Regions from separate parts of the Homo sapiens genome. Here region 2 is linked to region 1. Evidence: promoter capture Hi-C in 16 types of primary human blood cells and fetal thymus (Javierre and others, 2016). All regions are on one chromosome and are shown on one strand. Each heading gives the region's core, a stretch centred on a gene start or on the middle of the fragment in contact. The rest is flanking DNA. Distances are from core to core; before and after follow the strand shown.

The links. Contacts are between HindIII fragments. The CHiCAGO score rates a contact against its expected background, and 5 or more counts as called.
Region 2: a contact is called between a fragment that was not itself captured here and the fragment with the promoter of DEFB123 in region 1, in 1 of 17 cell types (endothelial precursors). The highest score is 5.7, in endothelial precursors.

Annotation. Positions count from the first base shown.
Region 1 is chr20:31,437,458-31,444,807 of GRCh38, forward strand. It overlaps DEFB123 (defensin beta 123), which reads left to right and starts at 3,175. Exons shown (of 2, transcript NM_153324.4): 1 at 3,175-3,299. The coding sequence starts at 3,242. The HindIII fragment of the contact is 4,618 bases long and covers 1-3,635 here.
Region 2 is chr20:31,504,768-31,511,447 of GRCh38, forward strand. It overlaps the pseudogene CD24P3. Among named protein-coding and RNA genes, the nearest start is that of HM13, 6.3 kb to the right of the region's middle. The HindIII fragment of the contact is 2,650 bases long and covers 3,569-6,218 here.

The DNA of each region.
Region 1 (7,350 bases), core at 1,925-4,424:
AACCTGGGAAGCAGAGGTTGCAGTGAGCCAAGATCGCACCACTGCACTCCAGCCTGGGCAACAGAGCGAGACTCTGTCTCAAAAAATAATAATAATAATTAAATAAATAATAAAAAATAAAAGGTAAGTCTAGCAGCTCAGTAGAGAATGCAAAATCTAAAAGCAAGATGGGAACCCTACCCGAATATCTTGAGCTGAGAGTGAAGGCGATTTGGCTCCCCAAAGGAAAATTAAGGGGCTGTCACTAGAAGAAAAGGAAATCACTGCTGAGCATGCAAAGGTCCATTACAAAGCCTTAGAAGTGAAGTTTCTGGATTGCAGGGCCTGCATGTTTTAAGGATTTGATATTGACAAACAACTTCCAAAAAGTCTGGATTTGGATTTGGATTTCTATGATCAAGGTATCGTTCTTTCCCTACATCCTAGAAAAGTCTAGGATCATCAATAAAATAATACTCTTGGCTAGTGTGGTGGCTCACACCTGTAATCCCAACACTTTGAGAGGCTTAGGCAGGCGGATCACTTGACATCAGGAGTCCGAGACCAGCGTGGCCAACGTGGTGAAACCCCGTCTCTACTAAAAACACGAAAATTACTTTTTTTCTTTTTTTTTTTTTGAGATGGAGTTTCGTTCTGTCTCCCAGGCTGGAGTGCAGTGGTGCGATCTTGGCTCACTGTAACCTCCGCCTCCCGAGTTCAAGCAATTCTCCTGCCTCGGCCTCCTGAGTAGCTGGGATTACAGGCACATGCCACCAGGCCTGGCTAATTTTTTTTTTTTTAGTAGAGATGGAGTTTCACCATATCTGCCAGGCTGGTCTCAAACTCCTGACCTCAAGTGATCTGACTGCCTCGGCCTCCCAAAGTGCTGGGATTACAGGCATGAGCCACTACACCTGGCCTAAAAATACAAAAATTAGCCGGGCATGGTGGTGTGCGTGCCTGTAGTCCCAGCTACTCAGGAGGCTGAGGGACAAGAATTGCTTGAACCCGGGAGGCAAAGGTTGCAGTAAACCAGGATCGCACCACTGCACTCTAGCCTGGGCAACAGAGCAAGATTCCAACTCTCTCTCTATATATATATATATATATATTTTTTTTTCTTGGCAATTTGATTGGAGAAATGATACCTCACTGTCATCTGAATTTGTTTGTCCTTGATTCCTGGTGAGGTTGAGAAGTAGGCCCTTCTGACTCACCATGAACAGGCCATGATGTCTGAGGTGTGCCTGGTGTCTGATGTCTGAGGTGTGCCTGGAGGTGCACATATAAGTCTCCCTCTGCTCCCTTGACATCTCCCTTATCCCCTGCCCATTGTGGATACACAGCTACTCCAGAGTCCTCAGGAGGACTACAAAGGCTTCAAAACAAGAGCAAAATTGCTACATTGACTATGCAAGGAGCAGGCCCAGAGATGGACAATGATTTTGCAAGACCCACACAGTGTACTTGGGAGTTGGGGTCAAGAGAAAAGACCTGTGATATAAGTGGTTCAGAGACTTGGGGGCTGATAAGGGCAGGCTAGAGAATCCTTATCTGAAAACCCAATTACCTTGCCCTGTTTTGGTGTTGAAAACCTGGATTGCTGCATTCTTTTACTTTCTGTGTCTTTTATATAGAAAACCATATAATATGATGGATATATTGATCCCTACTGCACATCTGCCCCAAATCCTTAATTGAAGAGATTGAGACCCAGAAAAAAAAAAAAAGTAATTCTTCCAAGGTCACATAGAAAGCTAGTAGCAGTGTCAGGACTAGTTACCCAATATTTTCAACTCTGCTGTCACTCTCAATACAAAAATCCTCCATATATCCTGGCATTTCAGGCAGTGGGAAAATCTCTTCTTTTAGGGAGAAAAGAATCCAACAGATACATTATTTCTCCAGGCCTGGGCAACAGAGCAAGACCCTGTATCCAAAACAACAACAAAAACAAAAAGATAAAAAATAGTTTTTAAAATTAAGAAAAAAAAAGAAATGAAATGAGCCTCCTTACCAAAAATGAACAGCACAGGAAAGGTGGACTTCCAGGCTTTCCACTGAGTCCCTTCCTAGCCAGTGTCTCTTCTTCTCTTCATTGTAAGGGTTTTAGAAAGAATTATTTACACTTGCTGACCTCACTGTTTCACTTACCTTTCAGTTTTCAACCCCATTGACTGTTTTCTGCCCCTACAGAAATGGCTTTCACTGTTGTTGTTGTTGTTGTTGTTTTTCCCTTGTAATCCCTCTGTATGCTATTATACCCTTGACATCTGTTTCAAGCAGGGTCCAGTCAGAGAAACAGTAACTACAGGATGCAGCTACCACCCGAGGGCTGAGGGAACTAAAGGAAAGAGATGCCTTTTCTTTTCTTTTCTGAGACAGAGTCTTGCTCTGTCGCCCAGTCGGGAGTGCAGTGGCGCGATCTCGGCTCACCACAGCCTCCCCAGGTTCAAGCGATTATCTTGCCTCAGCCTCCCAAGTAGCTGGGATTATAGGCATGCACCACCACACCTGGCTACTTTTTGTATTTGTAGTAGAGATGGGGTTTCACCATGTTGGCCAGGCTGGTCTCGAACTCCTGACCTCAAGTGATCCACCCACCTTGGCCTCCCAAACTGCTGGGATTACAGGCGTGAGCCACCGTGCCCGGCCAAGAATGAGTTTTCAAAACCCGAGTTCAGAAGAAGGATTCTGAGTGGTTGGTTCTCAGATCTCTGAGGAAGCGGAAGGATGACCCTAGGGGGAGGGCCACCGCATGTTAGAACCCAGCAGGGGGCTGTGACAGACAGGCTGGTGCTCGGAGCTTCATCTCTTTCTGCCGTTTTCCTCTCAGTTTTTGCTCTGGTTATGTCATATTTCTCATTTTCAACACCAACATGAGCCTTTGTACAGACATTCCTCCACCTGGAACCCCATTTCAGCTCATCTACCTGTTGCTTTGTATTTATTCTTCAAAACTCTGCCGTCTTCCCTGACCTTCCGGAGCCGGTGTTTGTGGCGCCTCCTGCTGGTCACTGGGTTCAGGCAGTTTGGAGCTGGGTGGAAGGAACGGGTAGTATATTAAGTCTTGGGCCCTGGACCTTGTTGGCTGTCCTCTCCCTGCTGACCTAAATGACAAAGGGAGGGGTGTCCAGTCAGAGTGTGAGGGCTGTACCCGTGGGCAGCTGAGGGAGTGCGAGCCACAGGCCAGGCACTCTCCTTCTCCCATTAGCTCAGCCGTGGCATCGGACTTGCAGCTTCATTTTGGGCTGCCTTAGCCATGAAGCTCCTTTTGCTGACTTTGACTGTGCTGCTGCTCTTATCCCAGCTGACTCCAGGTAACCTGAACCTCCTTAAGGAAGGGGCAGGGCTTAGAGACTAAGGCCTGGTCAGAGAATCCCAAGGGCTAGAAGGATGGGCTGCAGGTTGTCATCTAGCACCACGTATAGGAGGCAGGAGGCGCCTCACCAGCAGCAGGTGCCAGCTGATAGATGACAACTACAACATCCAGAGCTGCTCTCTCAGCGGCTCCATCCCTCCTCTTCCTGCCCAGCTCCAGGGAGCATGTGGGGGTGGCCTAGTGTGTGAGGAGGAGTGGGAGGGGTGAGCAAGAGAAGCAGGAAAGAGGAGAGGCAGGTATGGCCCTTTTGCAAAATAGTCCCCAGAATGAACGAAGCTTTGTGAAGATCACAGCTACCTTAATGGGAGAGAAAGCTCATTTGTACTTAGCTGTCTCTGTGCCAGACTCTGCGCTGGAAGCTAGGACCACGGAGATAAATGACATGGTGCCAGGGGAACTAACTGGAGGAGACAGTTAAATAGCATTTATAACCCAGGGTGACACGGCTGTGGCAGTGGGAAACCAGGGGGCTGGGTACACATGGTCCAGCCCAGGCTGAGGGAAAGGAGAGTCCTCCTGGAGGGATATCCTGAGTCCTAAAAAGTGAGTCGAAAATAGAAAAGGAAGGAGAGGGGAAAGCAGAAGGGTGTCCCAGGCAGAGAGGTCAGCCTATGCAAAGGTTGGATGCGGGAGAGAGCATGGGAGTGTCGGGGACCTGCATAACATGGAGGGGTGGGTTAGGAGAGAGGCGGGGGTAAAGCTGAGGAAGCATTCAAGCTCCAGGTCTCAGTGGGCCTCAAATGCCAGGTGAGGGACCCATGGGAAGGTTTAAACAGAGAAAGACCCTGGTCAGACCTACCACCCACCAATTCCAGCATGAGCCACCTATCCCTTCCTGCTCATCTGGCAGAAGTTTCCACCCACCCTAAGGCTGTCGGCTAACCTTTCTACAGAGTCAGAAACGTGTGAATTTCCTAAACAAGCTGACCTCCGTCCTTGTGTCTTCCTGAGGCCCTAAAACACCACTCACCTGGAGTAGGGAGGAAAGCCCAGACCCCGGGTTAAAACCTGCCCCATCATTTTCTGACTCTGTGAGCCCCAACAAGAAGCTCAGCTGCTCAGAGTATCAATTTCCTCATTTCTCAAACTGCAATAACATCAAGTGTGTAATAATATCAGGTTGAGGGAACAACATTGAACACACTGAAATTTTGGTCTGCAAAAGAAATATGGCTTCTCTATTTTCTCTAACTCACCAAACTTTCCCAGGAACTTCCATCCTGACTGTGGGAGTTAGTGGTGGGAGGAGCAGGACTACAGAGATAAATGACATGGCACCAGGGGAGCAAACTAGGGGAGACAGTTAAATAGCACTTACAACCCAGGGTGACAAGGCACATAGGGGCTGGGCCTGAACTCAGCAGTTCAATATTTGTCTTTTCTGTTTTAAAATGATTTCTAAGCTAATTCAATCTCTTTTGAATAAGTGTTGAGTCTTTCAGCATGTCTCTTTCTTCCATCACCCTTTCTCTTTCCTGGGATAGTATCTGGTTACAGGGAAAAGTAACTTGATATGTCATCAAATAATTAATTGCTTCATTCAGTAAATACAGTTGAATGGATTTCTTGTTCCAAGCACTGTGATGGGTGCTAGAGGTAGAACTGGGAACAAAACAAGATAAGCAAAATCTCTGTCCTCTTGGAGCTTACCTTCTACTGGAGGACCCAAAGAATTTGAAAAATAAATGAAACATATGGTATGTCAGATAATGAGTACAGTGAGCAGAATAGGCAGGAAAGGAAATAGTGAACACCAGGGGAAGGGGAAGGTCATTTGCTTTTTTTTTTTTTTTTTTTTTGGAGACAGGGTCTTGCTCTGTCACCCAGGCTGGAGTGCTGGAGTGTAGAGGCACGATCTTAGCTCACTGCAACCTCCACCTCCCGGATTCAAGCAGTTTTCATGCCTCAGCCTCCTAAGTAACTGGGATTACAGGCGCCTGCAACCACGCCTGGCAAATTTTTGTATTTTTAGTAGGATACGGTTTGGCCATGTTGCCCAGGCTGGTCTTGAATCCCTGACCTCAAGCAATCTGCTTGCCTCAGCCTCCCAAAGTGCTGGGATTACAGGCTTGAGCCACCATGCCCGGTCTTTGCCATTTTTAAGGGGTTGTTCATGGAATGTCTCACTGTGACCTGAGGGAACAACCGGTGTGAGCATGTGGCTATGGAGGGAAGGAAATTCAAGCTGGGGAAAACAGCAAGTGCAAGGGTCCTGGGATAGGAACATAAGGAGGTGGGGTCAGGTCCTGTGCTGGACCCTTACTGACTTCTGGGATCACGACCCTCGTTGGATGTGGTTAGTAGCGTCCTGCTAGCACTTACTACTGGATTTCATGACTGATGAAATCTCTCAGCCCTTTTGGGGTCCCCACTGACTCGACCCTTCATCTCAGCCAGATCTTCCATCTGGTCCCCAAGTTAAGGCTGTTCACACCCTCCCTTACTGCCTTCTGCACTAGGGGTGTACTCTTGGCAGGTCCCTCACTGGTTTTCCTATCTCAGCCAGAGACAAGGGAACCTGGGGACCTTCTGGGTCTATTTTATTCAACAGAGAGCTGACAGTGATGCTCAGCCACTTCCCTTAGCCATTTCTAATCCCCCTTCAGGTAGCACCATGCAGTGCTATATCCATGCTAAAGATAAGAATTTCTCTGAAGAGCTACCAGTTTCCCTGAGCTATGCTCTAAGAGGCAGAGAGTAAGTGTCTTCTGCGTTGGCAATTTCTTTCGACCAATCTGGGTATTCATAGCAAGAGACTCTCTTGCCCCTACCTTTCTCACATTAATTATCTCTACTTCCTGAGTGTTCAGGTCAACCAGTAGACTGCTAGCAGGAGACACACGAAAGGCCTTTGTCCCTAGCTTGTTGGTGGGTCCACCATCAGGCTGGCAGAATGAGGCATGGGTTCTAGCAGGGCTCTCAGGCCCACTGCTGCTGCTGCGGGAGCTGGATTTAAACTTCCAGCTTCCCCAGAAATTATGGGCAGAGTATTTCCCCTCTACTTCCTGTTGGGTATGGTAGTGGTGACAGAGGTTAAATGGAAGCTACTTTAGCTGGACCCTCAGCCTTAGCCTCCTATAGCTTATGATGAAGTGGTATTGTCTGAACCCCCCAGGTTCATCTAATAATGTATAAAGGAGCTCTTTGAAATTTGGAAATCCCTGAACTTCCTTAACAAATGTTGGTCCTTAAAATGGTCTTTCCATGCACAACCCTTATCTCATTTAAGCTGAGCAATGAGTTTGCTGTTCTGTTGTTCACCATTCCCCCAAAACCCAGAAACTCTGCCCAATTCTGCTTTTTGACAACCAATGGATTTTATGATTAAAGGGGATTGAAATATGCATCACTTCAATATTTTCAAAATATTGTCATACTCACCGTTAGGTTAATTGTGGGAATTCAGGAGACATATGTAAAGCCCAGAAACCCAGCAGAGATGAGATTTAGGTGGGACACCTGCCCTTCCATTATACATCCTCACAGCACCCTGAGTTCGTTCTTTATAATTTTTATCATACTCTAGTTAATCAAATATCTGGGTATCTATTTTTTAATGGCTCTTTCTCCCCTCATTAGACTGGAAGTTCTCTGAGGGTAGGTGTCTCACTCATTTATAGTTTTATCTCCAGTGTATAGGCCTCTCAGTCTATACATGTGAGTATTTCCCTGGTGTAGACATCTGGAAAGGAATTGCTAGGTAAAGACTGTGTATAGTTTTAAAATGTGTAAGTTATTGCTCAGTAGGCTCCACAGATGCTAAAAAAGTGTATGAGTGTCATTCCTTTCACTCACCAATAGTTCCTCTTGACACTCTTAAATTAAAAATTGAGATTTTGTTGTTAAATGGTGGCTTTTTCCTTATCTTTTTGTAAACTAAAACACAGAATCACAGATGCTGCACACCACATAATACAAGTGTGCAGCTTAATGGAGGTTATAAGTGCACATCTTTGTAACCACCACTCAGGTCAATGGACAGAGCATTG
Region 2 (6,680 bases), core at 3,644-6,143, 69 kb after region 1:
TATCAGGACAACAGCATTTTTACCCAGATACATTGTGAGGCTAGCATTCATTCTATGACCCTGACGTTCATCCCATGACCGTCGATTTTTTTTTTTTTTTTTTTTGAGACAGAGTTTCACTCTTGTTGCCCAGGCTGGAGTGCAATGGTGCAATCTCGGCTCACTGCAACCTCCTCCTCCTGGGTTCAAGTGATTCTCTTGCCTCAGCCTCCCGAGTAGCTGGGATTACAGGCATGCGCCACCACACCCGCCTAATTTTTTGCATTTTTGGTAGAGATGGGGTTTCATCAGGTTGGCCAGGCTGGTCTCGAACTCCTGACCTCAGGTAATCCATCCGCCTCGGCCTCCCAGAGTGCTGGGATTACAGGCGTGAGCCACCGCACCCGGCCTGACATTCAACATCTTATGGCTTGGTCTGAGATTATGGAAATCCTCACTGACCTCAGGTTCAGCCTGTGTAACAGAAGCCTCACCACCCACCCCAGAGGCCTTTGAGAGTAGAACTGGACACCCTTCAAGACTCCCCTGACCAACTTGAGCCAAGGAAGCTCACAGATCTGGGAGCTTCTAGGTTCCTGCAGCAAATCATAACATGTTAACTCAGTTCCTGAGGGCTGCTGTTTGTAGCAAGCCTGGTTTTCTGTGAAAGAGAATGAAGACAAAGCAGATAAAAACAGAAAGGAGATGCAGAGAGAGGATCCTGGCAGCATGGACATCCTGGCTTCCAGGGGTTAGTGAGGCCCAATTCCATCCCTGCCTGTCCTTGCAGGGGTTTGGTTATTCACCTCTTCCTTGGAGTTCAAGAGGCCAATGCATTCCAGCCTTCGCCTAAAGCGTTTCAAACTGTGCTTCCAGCCCTTGCAAATCACAGAACCCTGAGTCTGTCAGAGGTTCTCTCTCTGACACTTCCCATTCCCTTTGCAAATCTAGCCTCCATCCCCAACTCAACAAAGAACAAAGGGAACTCTGAAATGACAATTTTCTCTTAAAGTCTTCAATTTTCCCTTTTGTTTTCTATTTTGAAAGGAGCAGAGTGACAAGTTCATTATACTCATTCCTTCCTCCTAGCCTATCATCACCATTTTCCAAAAGGGCCCGGCTTTATTTTACTTCCGTACCTATTTTTTTGTTGTTTTAATCCCAGTTGCCACTCTCATTCCCAACCCTCTATAGGCAACCATTCCAATGTGCTTGACGTACATTCTTTAATATGTAAATGACCTTGTTAGATTTGCTATGTAGACTTCTGATATATACCTTTGTCAGAGGTGCTTGAACCAGAGCAACTCCATCTTGAGTAGGGGCTGGGTAAAGTTAGGTGGAGACCTACTGGGCTGCATTCCCAGGCAGTTATGCATTCTTAGTCACAGGATGAGATAGGAGGTCAGCACAAGATACAGGTCACAAAACCTTGCTGATAAAACAGGATGCAGTAAAAAAGCTGGCAAAAACCCACCAAAACCAAGATGGCAACAAAAGTGACCTCTGGTCCTCCTCACTGCTCATTAAATGCTAATTATAATGCATTAGCATGCTAAAAGACACTCCCACCCATGCCGTGATAGTTTACAAATGCTATGGCAATGTCCAGAAGTTACCCTTTATGGTCTAAAAAGGGGAGGAACCCTCAGCTCCAAGAATTGCCCACCCCTTTCCCAGAACACTCATGGATAATCCACTCCTTGTTTAATATATAATCCAGAAATAACTATAAATATACTCAGTCAAGCAGCCCATGCAGCTGTTCTGCCTATGGAGTAACCATTCTTTCATTCCTTTGGTTTTTTTTTTTTTTTTGATACAGAGTCTTACTCTGTCACCCAGGCTGGAGTGCAGTGGCGCGATCTCAGCTCACTGCAACCTCCACCTCCCGGGTTCAACTGATTCTCGTGCCTCAGCCTCCTGAGTAGCTGGAATTACAGGCATGCGCCACCACACCCAGCTAATTTTTATTACAGATGGGGTTTCACGTTGTTGGCCAGGCCGGTTTCAAACTCCTGACCTCGTGATCCGCCCGCCTCGGCCTCCCAAAGTGCTGGGATTACATGCCTGGGCCACCACGCCCGGCCGTACATTAGCTATTAAAAAAAATAAAACATAGAAAATAAAATCTCCTTTATCCTTCAAGATTTGGTTCAAATGCCCACTCCACTGGGAGCCCTTCAATGGCAGAGACTGCTGTTGCCTCCTAACTTCCATTCTCCTCCTCTTTCATTGTAAGAAAACTCCTGCACTCTGCAGCTTGGCTTTTTTTTTTTTTTTTTTTTTTTTTTTTAGACAGAGTCTTGCTCTGTCACCCAGGCTAGAGTGCAGTGGCACAATCTTGGCTCACTGCAACCTCCAACTCCTGGGTTCAAGCAATTCTGTCTCAGCTTCCTGAGTAGCTGGGACTACAGTCACACACCACCACGCATGGCTAATTTTTGTATTTTTGTATTTTTTTTTTTTTGAGACGGAGTTTTGCTCTTGTTGCCCAGGCTGGAGTGCAATGGCGCGATCTCGGCTCACCACAACCTCCGCCACCCAGGTTCAAGCAATTCTCCTGCCTCAGCCTCTCAAGTAGCTGGGATTACAGGCATGCGCCATCACGCCTGGCTAATTTTTTTTGTATTTTGAATAGAGACGGGGTTTCTCCATGTTGGTCAGGCTGGTCTCAAACTCCTGACCTCAGGTGATCCGCCCACCTCGGCCTCCCAAAGTGCTGGGATTACAGGCATGAGCCAGCACGCCCGGCCTAATTTTTGTATTTTTAGTAGAGACGGAGTTTCACCATATTGGTCAAGTTGGTCTCAAACTCCTGACCTCAGGTGATCCACCCGCCTCAGCCTCCCAAAATGCTGGGATTACAGGCGTAAGCCACTGCGCCTGGCGCAGCTTGGCATATTTTTTTTTAAAAGAAAAAAAATAATATTCCATTTTTATCTAGGCAATTGCAAGATTTCCAATAACTAGCTTAATGCTGTCCCACTAATAGAGTGCACACAGCCTCCCTTGTGGCTAAACATGACCAGGTAATTATGGTCTGGCCAATTAAATGTAAGTAGAAGCATTATATAGAACTCCTGGAGTGATTGTCAGAGGGGAGGGGATGAAAACTCTTTTGCTCTTTCCTCCTCCTTCCAGACTACAATTTGAACAAGGTGTCCAGAGCTTTAGCATCCTTCTTAGATCATGAGGTGACCTTGAGGATGGAAGTCCTATGCTAGAACGATGAATACAATAGACAGAAGGAGCTGGATCCCCGATAGCCATGGAGCTGCTGTACTGGCCCTGAGCTGCCTGACTCCACATTTCTTTAAATTCATCTGTTTTAAATTTTTTTTTTTAAACAGACTCTCACTCTGTCACCCAGGCTGGAGTGCAGTGGCATGATCTCGGTTCACTGCAGCCTCCTCCTCCTGGGTTCAAGCAATTCTCATGGCTCAGCTTCCCGAGTAGCTGGGACTACAGGTGCACACCACTATGCCTGGCTAATTTTTGTATTTTTAGTAGAGACAGGGTTTCACCATTTTGGCCAGGCTGGTCTTGAACTCCTGAGCTCAGGTGATCCGCCCACTTGGCCTCCCAAAGCTTTGGGATTACAGGTGTGAGCCACTGCGCCTGGCCTCTTTAAGTTCATCTGTTTTAAATTGTTGTTATTTGGAGGTTTTCTGTTGCATGCAACCAGCCAAACCTAATCATAACTGACATGTTGTTCTGGTTATCTATTGCTGCATAAAGAGGAACTCCCAAAAGAACTATTTTGTCAAACTTACTGATTCTGGGGATCAGGAGTTTTGACAGGACTTTGTGGGCATGGCTTGACTCTGCTCCATGCTCTCTGGAGCCCCAGCTGGGAAGACTTGATGGTTTAGTGTGACTCAAGCAGCTGGGGACTGGGATCATCTGGAGGACTCTTCACTCACATGTCTGGCACCTGGACTGAGATAACAAAAAGACTGGACTCAGCTGGCATTGCTGACTGAAGCATCTACACATGGCTTCTCCATGTGACTTGGGCTTCCTTACAACATGGCAGTCTCTGGGCAGTCAGACTTGTTAAAAGTGGCTCAGAGGTCCTTGAGCAATTGTTCCACTGAACAAGGTGGAAGCTGTTTGGCTTCTTCCTTATTTCCTTTTTCTTTAATTTCCTCTAAAATATTTTATCTTCTTGTTTGGCCTCTTCTGACCTCGCTTCAGAAGTCATGCAGCATCAACCTTGTCTGCAGCTGCCCTGAGCCAGCAGTTCTCTACACACCCAGCATCAGCATCAAGTGAGATGCACCCAGCACGGTTGGAGCAGGCATGGGCAGAGCAATGGTAGCCAGGCTCCAGCAGGGGCTGCAACTTCTGGCACTGCTCCTACGGATGCAGATTTATACAGCTCAAACAACTGCTCTAACTTTTAAGTAACTTCTTCCAGAATAACGGCTGCCCCCAAGTCTAGCGAATGCCACCAATAAGGCATTGACAGTGTCCTGCAGTCAACAGCCAGTCTCCCCCCTCACTCCTCAGGGTCTCACTCTCTTCCTCTTCTCTGCTGTTAAAAGACTCAGGCCAGGCCAGGCATGGTGGCTCACGCCTGTAATCCCAGCACTCTGGGAGGCCGCGGCAGGTGGATCCCCTGAGGTCAGGAGTTCAAGACCAGCCTCAACAACATGGAGAAACCCTGTCTCTACTAAAAATACAAAACTAGCCAGGCATGGTGGCGCATGCCTGTATTCCCAGCTACTGGGGAGGCTGAGGCAGGAGAATCACTTGAACCAGGGAGTCGGAGGTTGCAGTGAGCCGAGATTGTGCCACTGCACTCCAGCCTGGCAACAGAGCTAGACTCCATCTCAAAACAAAAAAAAAAAAAAAAAAAAGTGAAACTATCTCAAAAAAAAGACTCAGGCCAAGACAGGTCTACACTTTCCCATCTTCTAAATTCAATTCAAAGGTCATCTAGAAGGCCAGTATGGCAAGGAAAAAACAAGTCTTCATCAAATCTAGTAGATCTAGATAAAATAAGATACAGGCCAGGCGTGGTGGCTCACACCTGTAATCCCAGCACTTTGGGAGGCCGAGGCGGGTGGATCATGAGGTCAGGAGATCAAGACCATCCTGGCTAACACGGTGAAACCCCGTCTCTACTAAAAATACAAAAAAAAAAAAAAATTAGCCGGGCACGGTGGCGGGTGCCTGTAGTCCCAGCTACTTGGGAGGCTGAGGCAGGAGAATGGCATGAACCCGGGAGGCGGAACTTGCAGTGAGCTGAGATCATGCCACTGCACTCCAGCCTGGGCGAAAGAACGAGACTCCATCTCAAAATAAAATATAAGATCCACATCTTGGTTGGGCGTGGTGGCTCACGCCTGTAATCCCAGCACTTTGGAAGGCCGAGACGGGCAGATCACGAGGTCAGGAGTTTGAGACCAGCCTGACCAACATGGTGAAACCCCATCTCTACTAAAAACACAAAAATTAGCCGGGCGTGATGGCGGGTGCCTGTTGTCCCAGCTACTCAGGAGGCTGAGGCAGGAAAATTGCTTGAGCCCGGGACACAGAGGTTGCAGTGAGCCAAGATCACACTACTGCACTCCAGCCTGGGTGACAGAACAAAACGCCATCTCAAAAAAAAAGATAAGATCCACATCTAATTTTATTGACACAGAAAATGTCAAGAACCCCAAATTTGGTTGGTTTGAAGAACATGTGAAGGGTTTGACTAGATGATGAATGTCAATATTAAATCAGCTGAAGTTTCATATACAAAATGAAGAGGAACAGCATTCAAACTTAGTTAAGACACAATTTCCTTGAGTGGCCAGGCATGGTAGTCATGCCTGTAATCCCAGCACTTTGGGAGGCCAAGGTGAGCAGATCGCTTGAGCCCAGGAATTCAAGACCAGCCTGGGCAACATGGTGAAACCCCATCTCTATAAAAAATGGAAAAATTAGCTGGGCATGGTGGTATATGCCTATAGTCCCAGCTACTCGGGAGGCTGAAGTGGGAGGGTCGCTTGAGCCCAGGAGGTCAAGGCTGCAGTGAGCTGTGATCATGCCATTGTGTTCCAGCCTGGGTGACAGAGTGAAAATGTGCCTTGAAATAAAATTTTCCTTTGAATACGGCTTAAGAAATATGGCCACTTAAAACTCTACCTTGAAAATAAATATAGATTTTATCTTATCTAGAGGTAGAGTGGGAAGTTTTCATTTGGTACATTAAATCTATAAGGCCATAAACAGGTAATATAAAAAGCTTTCATAATTCAATTTATATATAACATGAGAAGGAACTTCCAGGTGTTACTATGAATCTTCTATGTATAGTTACAGTCAATATACTTTATATAAGAGATAATTTTAATACCAATATAATCTAGATAACATTTTACTTTGTTATGTTATCATTGTTCTCTTGGGGAATAAATTTTTTCCTCTGAGGCTCTGGATTTGACATTGAATTTTGTGTGTACTAATTGACATGTGCCAGGGCAATGATGGACTGGAATCCACCCCCAAATCAAAGCATCATGGTAAATCTTGCTTATCCTTATAAAGTCAAATGATAGACATTTCCCATCACCTATTTCTATTCAACAAGAGCACCAGATTCAGTTAGCTAATCTGCTTCCAAAGAGTAGAACTGCATTGAGCTCAAATAATTTCAAAATACTGACTTTTTTTTATTTATTTATTTATTTTTTAGATGTGGTCTT